Regions from separate parts of the Homo sapiens genome. Here region 2 is linked to region 1. Evidence: promoter capture Hi-C in human tissues and cell types (Jung and others, 2019). All regions are on one chromosome and are shown on one strand. Each heading gives the region's core, a stretch centred on a gene start or on the middle of the fragment in contact. The rest is flanking DNA. Distances are from core to core; before and after follow the strand shown.

Region 1 (3,455 bases), core at 956-3,455:
GAGTGATCCAACAGATATTACCCTCCATAAAGTACCCTAAAGGCAGGAGCAATCTTTCCCCTACACTATCTAAATTTTCCCAACTCACCCAAAAGAATCTTAAGATGTAACTTCATCACTCAACTTGCCAATTAGCAAATAGCGGCCCCCACATCCCTTTTGGCCAATTTTCTAGATGCCTGACCTAGCAGACAGACCTGTTTTCCTCCTGCCAGGCCTTTTTTGCCCTCCCGCTAGGAGCCTGGGAAATCCCCCTCCAACCTTTTGCTGGCCTGTCACCAGAAGTTCATAAAATGAATTCATCCAGATTCTCTGAATCCTCCTTTTCCCCAGTCATGTGCCAACAGCCAGGCAATAATGCCCCACCGTGACAGGCTCCCTGTTACAAAAAGATGCAGATTCACGGGAAGACCAAGCACTTAGCATGGAGCAGAAGAAAAAAAGATGGAGGGAGGCGAGAGTCGCGGAGCCAAGCCTGCTGCATGCAGTACGGGTGACCACAGCCCGGGTCCTGCAAAGCCCCCGCGAGACTCGCCGGCTGGGCCCTCCGTACAGCAGCCACACCTGTCTATGCCAGCCGCCTGCCGGCTGCTCCATTTTAAACATTTCAAACAGATCTCCAGCAGGGTGGCAAAACTGGGCACCTCTCTCTCCCAGCAAGAGTGAGAGCCCTAATCCAGGCATCACTTGCCCCTGATTTTATTTCATTTTCACACACTCTGTTTAGGAGACACTGCTTGCTCCAACTGGCTCCATCTCTCCGTTACCGGTGAGGCAGGCACAGTGCTGCAGTGGCAGAATGGAAGTACCCAGGCTGACTTGCTCTCAGCCAGACACGACCTCTTCTCTGAGGAGGGTGATGCCAATAAATGGAACTCCAATAGGTAGGCTTCGCTCTGCCCTTCCACAAGTGAACACACGCCGTGAGTCCCTAAATCGCCAGGCTCCGCAGCCTCGCAGAAAGCCTAGTTTCCAGACGGTAGGTATCCCATTTATCCCTTGGCATCGGGAACCAAAGGGAATGCAGACAGATCCCGGTCGTGCACTACATTCCCAAACCTTGGCACGCACGCGAAGGCTTGGGGCGCCCCGGCGCGCCCTCCCTCCGAGGCCTCCACCACCCGCGGACTCACCACTATGCGAGCTGAACCACCTGGGTGCGATGTGCAGAGGTAGAGCATCCGCCAGCGAGGCTCGGGAGCCCAGGTACAGCATCCCGTCTCTATGGTGACCGCCGCCCGTCTCCTGGTAACCATTGCCATGGGCATAGGTGGAGTCGGACGCAGACCCTCCGCCGCCGGGCGCCCTCTCGGAGTCGCCGGTGCCCCGGGAGGCGGGGGTGTAGAGGCCAAAGGGCACCCCCCCGGCCGTGCTGGGGTCCATGCCCATGCCTGCCACCGAGCTGACCGAGCGGCTGCGCAGCCCCATGGCCCCGCCGCCCGTCCGGTAGTGCCCGAAATGGGGCGCCCCTCCCGGCGGCGGCACGGCGCTGTCATCGGTGGAGACCCCCGGGAAGGGGCCCCGGGAGCGGGCCGCCGTGCTCTGCTTGCCCCCCATGCTCGCCCGGGCCCCGGTGGGGCGGGAACCTGGAGGCCGAGACCCTCCCCCACTTCTCAGCAGCAGGGGGAGGGCTGGGCGAGCATAAAGGGGGAGGGAGTCAAAAAGGAGACCCGGAGGGAGAAAAGGAAAAAAAGCAAAAGGAAAAAAGGAAAAAACCCGCGGGGCGGAAGAGGCAGGCGGGCGGGCGGGGATCCCAAACTCAGAATTTCAAACGATCCAAGGCAAACGCATGTTTCCCCTCAAGGTCCAAAGAGGCGCAGTCCGGCGCGGGCTCCGCGCGCCACAGGCCGCCCCCGGGCTCCGAAAGCCGGGGGAGCCGCAGGGAAGGAGGGAGGGAGGCGGCGGCGAGCGGCGGGCGGGCGCGGGGAGGCGCCGGAGGAGGCCGCCCGCCCCGCGGGAGGAGGCGGAGGAGGGCCGGGGGCGCCGGGCGCGTCCCCCGCCTCAGGACGCCGCGACCATGGACGGCGGCCCGGACCCCTCCAGGCCTCGGGCGGGCCGCGGCGCTGGGCGGCCAGGCGCAGCTCGGGAAGCCGCGGTCGCGTCGCGTCGCGCTCTCGCTTCAGCCGCCGCCGGCCCCGCCAGCCGCGCCGCCCCGCTCGGTCCCGGGCTGCGCTCGCCGGCGCTCCTCGCCGCCGTGGAGACAATGGAGGGCGGCAGAGCGCAGGCGCGGCCCGCGCCCCCTCCCCCTCCCCCCGCCGGGTTAACCCTTTCGCGGTCCCTGCGGCGCCTGGGCCGCTGACGCCCCAGCAGTCCCCACCCACCGCCCGCCCCCGGCCGGCCTGTGACCTGGGCGGCCTGACCACTGGGCGTTAGCCACAGAAACCAGATGTCTTTCAAAAGCAAACACTTCTTAAGTCCCCGAAAGTGGCAAATTATTCAGGGGGAACCAAGTATGGGGGAGGGGCAGCAATGGTTCGAGGGGGTGGGAAGGAAACACCGGGAAGAAGGAGATTTACTCCTTACGCCTACCTGGCTCTGAGGGTCACCGGTCGAGCTCCCCTCCTGGCACAAATTTGCCCCCACAGCACCCTCTGGTGGACGTGATGTCCATTCTTTCGGGGGTTCCCCATCCAAGCACCCCTCACGTCCGGAATCTCAACATTTGGCGGGGTTTAGTTATTTGGGGGTAAACAGCGCCATGGGGACACTTGTGAATCCGGCGTTTTGCTGACACTAGATCATAACTTCCTATTTTGGGCTTAAGCAAATGAGTAGATTCCTTAGCTAAAATGTAATTTTCAGAATCAATAGATGTACCATAAAAAGTGAATAGATATGGGTATGGAAATAGAACAACGCAGCTAGAAGTGATTATAGAAACCTTCTGTCCAAGGCTGGAGCCCTGTTTTGTTTACCATGTGCTGTGTTTCGGCCCTCACCACGGGCCAAGGACACGGTGGGTACTCAATAGGTGTATTGTTGACCAAGCCTGAATCATTTGCAAGGGAGTGTTCCTTTGCTACCTCAAGCCGTCTTTCTCCTATATTCACATTCATTTATTGAACAACTGTTTTTTTTGTTTTGTTTTGTTTTTGTTTTTGAGACGTAATCTCGCCCTGTCACCCAGGCTGGAGTGGTGTGGCGTAACCTCGGCTCACCGCAACCTCCGCCTCCCGGATTCAAGTGATTCTCCTGCCTCAGCCTCCCGAGTAGCTGGGATTACAGGCACATGCCACACTGCACCTGGCTAATTTTTTGTATTTTTAGTAGAGGCGGGGTTTCACCGTATTGGCCAGGCTGGTCTTGAACTCCTGACCTCAGGTAATCCACCTGCCTTGGCCTCCCAAAGTGTTAGGATTACAGGCATGAGCCACCGCGCCCGCCCTGTTTTTCTTTTTCTTTTTTTTCTTTTCTTTTTTTTTTTTTTTGAGACGGAGCCTTGCTCCTCCCAGGCT
Region 2 (3,671 bases), core at 477-2,976, 700 kb after region 1:
AACCCACAGTTAAAAAGGGCAGGAAAAGGCATCAGGGTACCATGTTATCAGGCAAGTTCTTACATTCTAAGAAAATTCCTAGCTTTGTTGGGTGAGGCAAGTTTTTAAAAGAAAAATGTCACTTCCCCATTTGATAAAGATTTCGTTATCAATTACCTTAATTTCGTTATCATTTGGAACACATTTTATCTTTCTCATCACAGGACATTTTTCAAAAAACAATTATAAAAGGGAGCTAAAATAAAACCATTTCCACTTAAGGAAAAAAAAATTGCTTAGGTCAACAGTTCAGATCTACCAATAACTTTCTGGGTAACCTTGTACTGAAGCTGTCTCTCTCAGCTTTCCTGTTCCTAAAAGGATGGCATTTTCTCTACATGCATCTCCAGAATATTGAGAAGCTTAACTAAGATGGTAATTTTTAGAACTAGAAGGAACCTCATTGACTGATAAAACTATAACCTTTTTCAAATAAGGATTATAATAGATATAGGATTTTAAAACAAAAGCTACTCCAAGATGAAGATTCTCTCCAGAAAATGGGCTACATTTGTTGAGAAGGACACCTAGTGGAGAGTGCAGGCCTGCATTTATTTCATACCTCTCTTCCCGTCAGTCAACATTATAGTTTCCAGACAAGGTATGCTATCCACAAAGTCATAAATTGTAACTCAAGACATTTTACAGTTGATGTAGTTCAAACACTTCAATTTACAGACAATAAAACAAAGGTCTGGAAAGGGACTGTGATTTGCTCAGAATGGCAGACTTGTTAGTGGACGGCCAGGACGAGACCCCAGGTCTCCATATTCCCGACACAGACCTCTTCCTTACACTGTGTGACCTCTCGGGCAGTGAATGATTTTGATGCTGTACTAGGGTCTCACCGTAACAAGTGTTCAACTCCAACTTCCTCAGCTTCCTCTGCTCCAATTTCACTGGTCACGTGTTCAAATGTTTTCGAGGTTGGAGTTCCATCCTGGGAGAGGAAGCCTAACTATAATTATTTATTTTCCACAAACGAACTGACATGTGTTCCTTTTCGCACCCTGAGTCTTTTGCTTTAAGTCAGCTCATTTAATGAGTGCATGACTGAGAATTTTCTATGGCAAGGGTGGGTAAGGCTTACTTTGAAAGCTTAGCCTTCAAAGCTAACATCACTGTGGTGCTGCTCAGTGATGCAGTCTGCTGGGGCACTGTGCGTTGAGAAAAATCTGGAAATTCCCTCAAGCCCACACTTGGCATGAACGCACAGGGAGGTCTCAGGTTGATTCTTAAAAGTATACCGCTTTGGCCAGGCACGGACCTGTAATCTCAGCACTTTGGTACGCCAAGAATTCGAGACCAGCCTGGGCAACATGGCGAAAACCCCTCTCTACTAAAAATACAAAAACTAGCCAGGTGTGGTGGCGGGCGCCTGTAATCCCAGCTACTCTGGAGGCTGAGGAACGAGAATCACTTGAACCTGGGAGGTGGAGGGTGCAGTGAGTCGAGATCACGCCACTGCACTCCAACCTGAGCAACAGAGTGAGATTGTCTTAAAAAAAAAAAAAGTATATAGTTCTTTCTAGAATGGACAATATACAGAATATCTGTACTGAAGCAAGTTCATGCCAGAAAATAAAACTTTTAGCCCTTTTTTGTCTCTTGGATCAAACGATTCCACAGTGCCCAAACCAATGCAATCAGAATAGTTGGCTTTCTGGTGGTCTGAATTAATCAAAGGATCCATTGGGGACATGGTTCATGGTGGTCACCCAGTGACATCCTGAAGGGACTTCGAAGATACTTTTCTCAGACCTTGTGCCAGAAGAGGCTGTACGTCTCCTGTCAAAAGGCTGTAAACTGTCTGTAAGGGAGGAAGGACAGCATAGTGGTAAGAGTACAGGCTCCACAGCCAGGCTACCTGGGTTCAAATTTGGCTCTGCCATGTATGTAATAGGCGAGCTCCAAGACCTTGGGAAAGTCACTCAACTCACACTAAGTACTATAAAAGTTAGCCGTGATTATTTTATTTAGGATAGTGTTAATCCTGCAAGGGGCATTCTCCTCTTTGCTTTGGATGCCAGGATGGTCAGAACCTTTAACAGTGTTGTGGGATTTCTTGGTAACCTTTACAGGCACTAATTCTTCTTGAGCTTCACCTTGTAACATGACCCATATGTCCCCTTTATCCCCTACTAAAAACACCTTGCTTCACTGGGGTGCATGTGTACGAGCAACCTCAATTCCTTTTCTAAAGAGGCAGGAGAAAAATTCACTAAAAACAACTGGGTCAAAACCAGGGATGAAAGCCCTACTGCAATTAGGCAATACATTTGGCTCTAAGCTCCCTGGTAGCCAGGCAAAGAGAAAAGCCCCAGGAAGACAGAGCTCGATGCAAGGAACATTTGCACAGAGCTATCCTAAAATACCCTTTTCTAAATCTTAAAACTGAAAGTAAGGATAAATACTGCATATCTAAATTCAAAAGGAGACCGTAATTCATCCCTTAAACTTTTCATTTGTAAAAGGGGAATTTGGATTTCTTGGTTTTTTGGGGGACAGCGTCTCAACTGTCGCACAGGTTGGAATGCAGTGGTGTGATCATTGCTCACTGTAACCTTGAACTCCTGGGCTCAAACAATATTCCCGTCTCAGCCTCCTGAGTAGCTTGGAATACAGGCATGGACCATCATGCCTGGCTAATGTTTTTATTTTTGTAGGTGTCTTGCTATGTTGCCCAGGCTGGTCTTCAACTCCTAGGCTTAGGCAATCCTCCCACCTCGGCCTCTCAAAGCACTGGGTGAGCCACTGTGCCTGGTTGGAATTTAGATTTCTATGTTCCTCTCCATTTCCAAAATGTGGTGATTAAAAAAGTCAAAGGGAAAAAAACTACCTTCTTTTGTTACGGAGACAAAGGATTTGTTGACCTGAAAATTGAAAAAAAAAAGCTAATCACCCAATAAGTAGCAGTCTAACCTCCCAGGTTCATAGCAAGATGACTTACATCATGGACTTCTTCCACTGAAATGTACGCTTCTGTAGGCAGCCCTAGGTCCTTCGGCTTCACATCAATGATGACCAATACCTGGCAGAGAAACACATCTTAGCAAGTCATCTCACGCCCAGCACAAAAGGGGTAATTTCAGGCATTCTTCTCACAATTACTAAAGCTATTTCTTGTAATCAATTAGAAATGAACCAGAATATTCAGCAAAAATGCATTTATGCTTCAAATGATCTCATCATTTCTTCTGCTTTTCGATCCCCTTCATTAATAAGCTGAGGGGCAGTACAGTGCCTAGCACAAGGACATTAGAGTCAACACAGCCAAAATTTCAATCCCAGTCCCACCCCTTACCAGACCTTCCTAACCATTCTGAACCTCAGTTTTCTCATTTGTAAAGAGGATATACAGTTACCGAGAGGATTACGAAACTCATACACCTGGTACTTAGCAGGTATAAACTATTATTTATCAAATATATTAGGTCACAGTATACTTCACAGAGCACTACAAATCAACAGAAGTTTATGGAGATAAAGCAGTAAGCAGATTTGCTACTCAAATTCTTCCCAGGATGCTCTTACTTGAGCTGGCTGGCAAAAAAAATCATTCAAGAGTTTTAAAAATAGACACCACTTACGGAATTAGGACAGTATCTTTTCATGAGTTCGTTGATGGCAAT

The links. Contacts are between HindIII fragments. The study calls those that stand out against the background at their distance.
Region 2: a fragment that was not itself captured here is called in contact with the fragment with the promoter of ZNRF1 in region 1 in 1 of the 25 tissues and cell types used here (dorsolateral prefrontal cortex).

The regions. Positions count from the first base shown.
Region 1 is chr16:74,997,774-75,001,228 of GRCh38, reverse strand. ZNRF1 (zinc and ring finger 1) reads right to left here and starts at 2,205. Exons shown (of 5, transcript NM_032268.5): 1 at 1,134-2,205. The coding sequence starts at 1,557. RefSeq lists an enhancer at 334-393 and silencers at 1,184-1,493, 1,894-2,413. The HindIII fragment of the contact is 18,053 bases long and covers 1-3,455 here.
Region 2 is chr16:74,301,611-74,305,281 of GRCh38, reverse strand. It overlaps PSMD7 (proteasome 26S subunit, non-ATPase 7), which reads right to left. Exons shown (of 7, transcript NM_002811.5): 4 at 3,630-3,671; 5 at 2,990-3,070; 6 at 888-979. Among named protein-coding and RNA genes, the nearest start is that of PSMD7, 6.6 kb to the right of the region's middle. The HindIII fragment of the contact is 3,140 bases long and covers 157-3,296 here.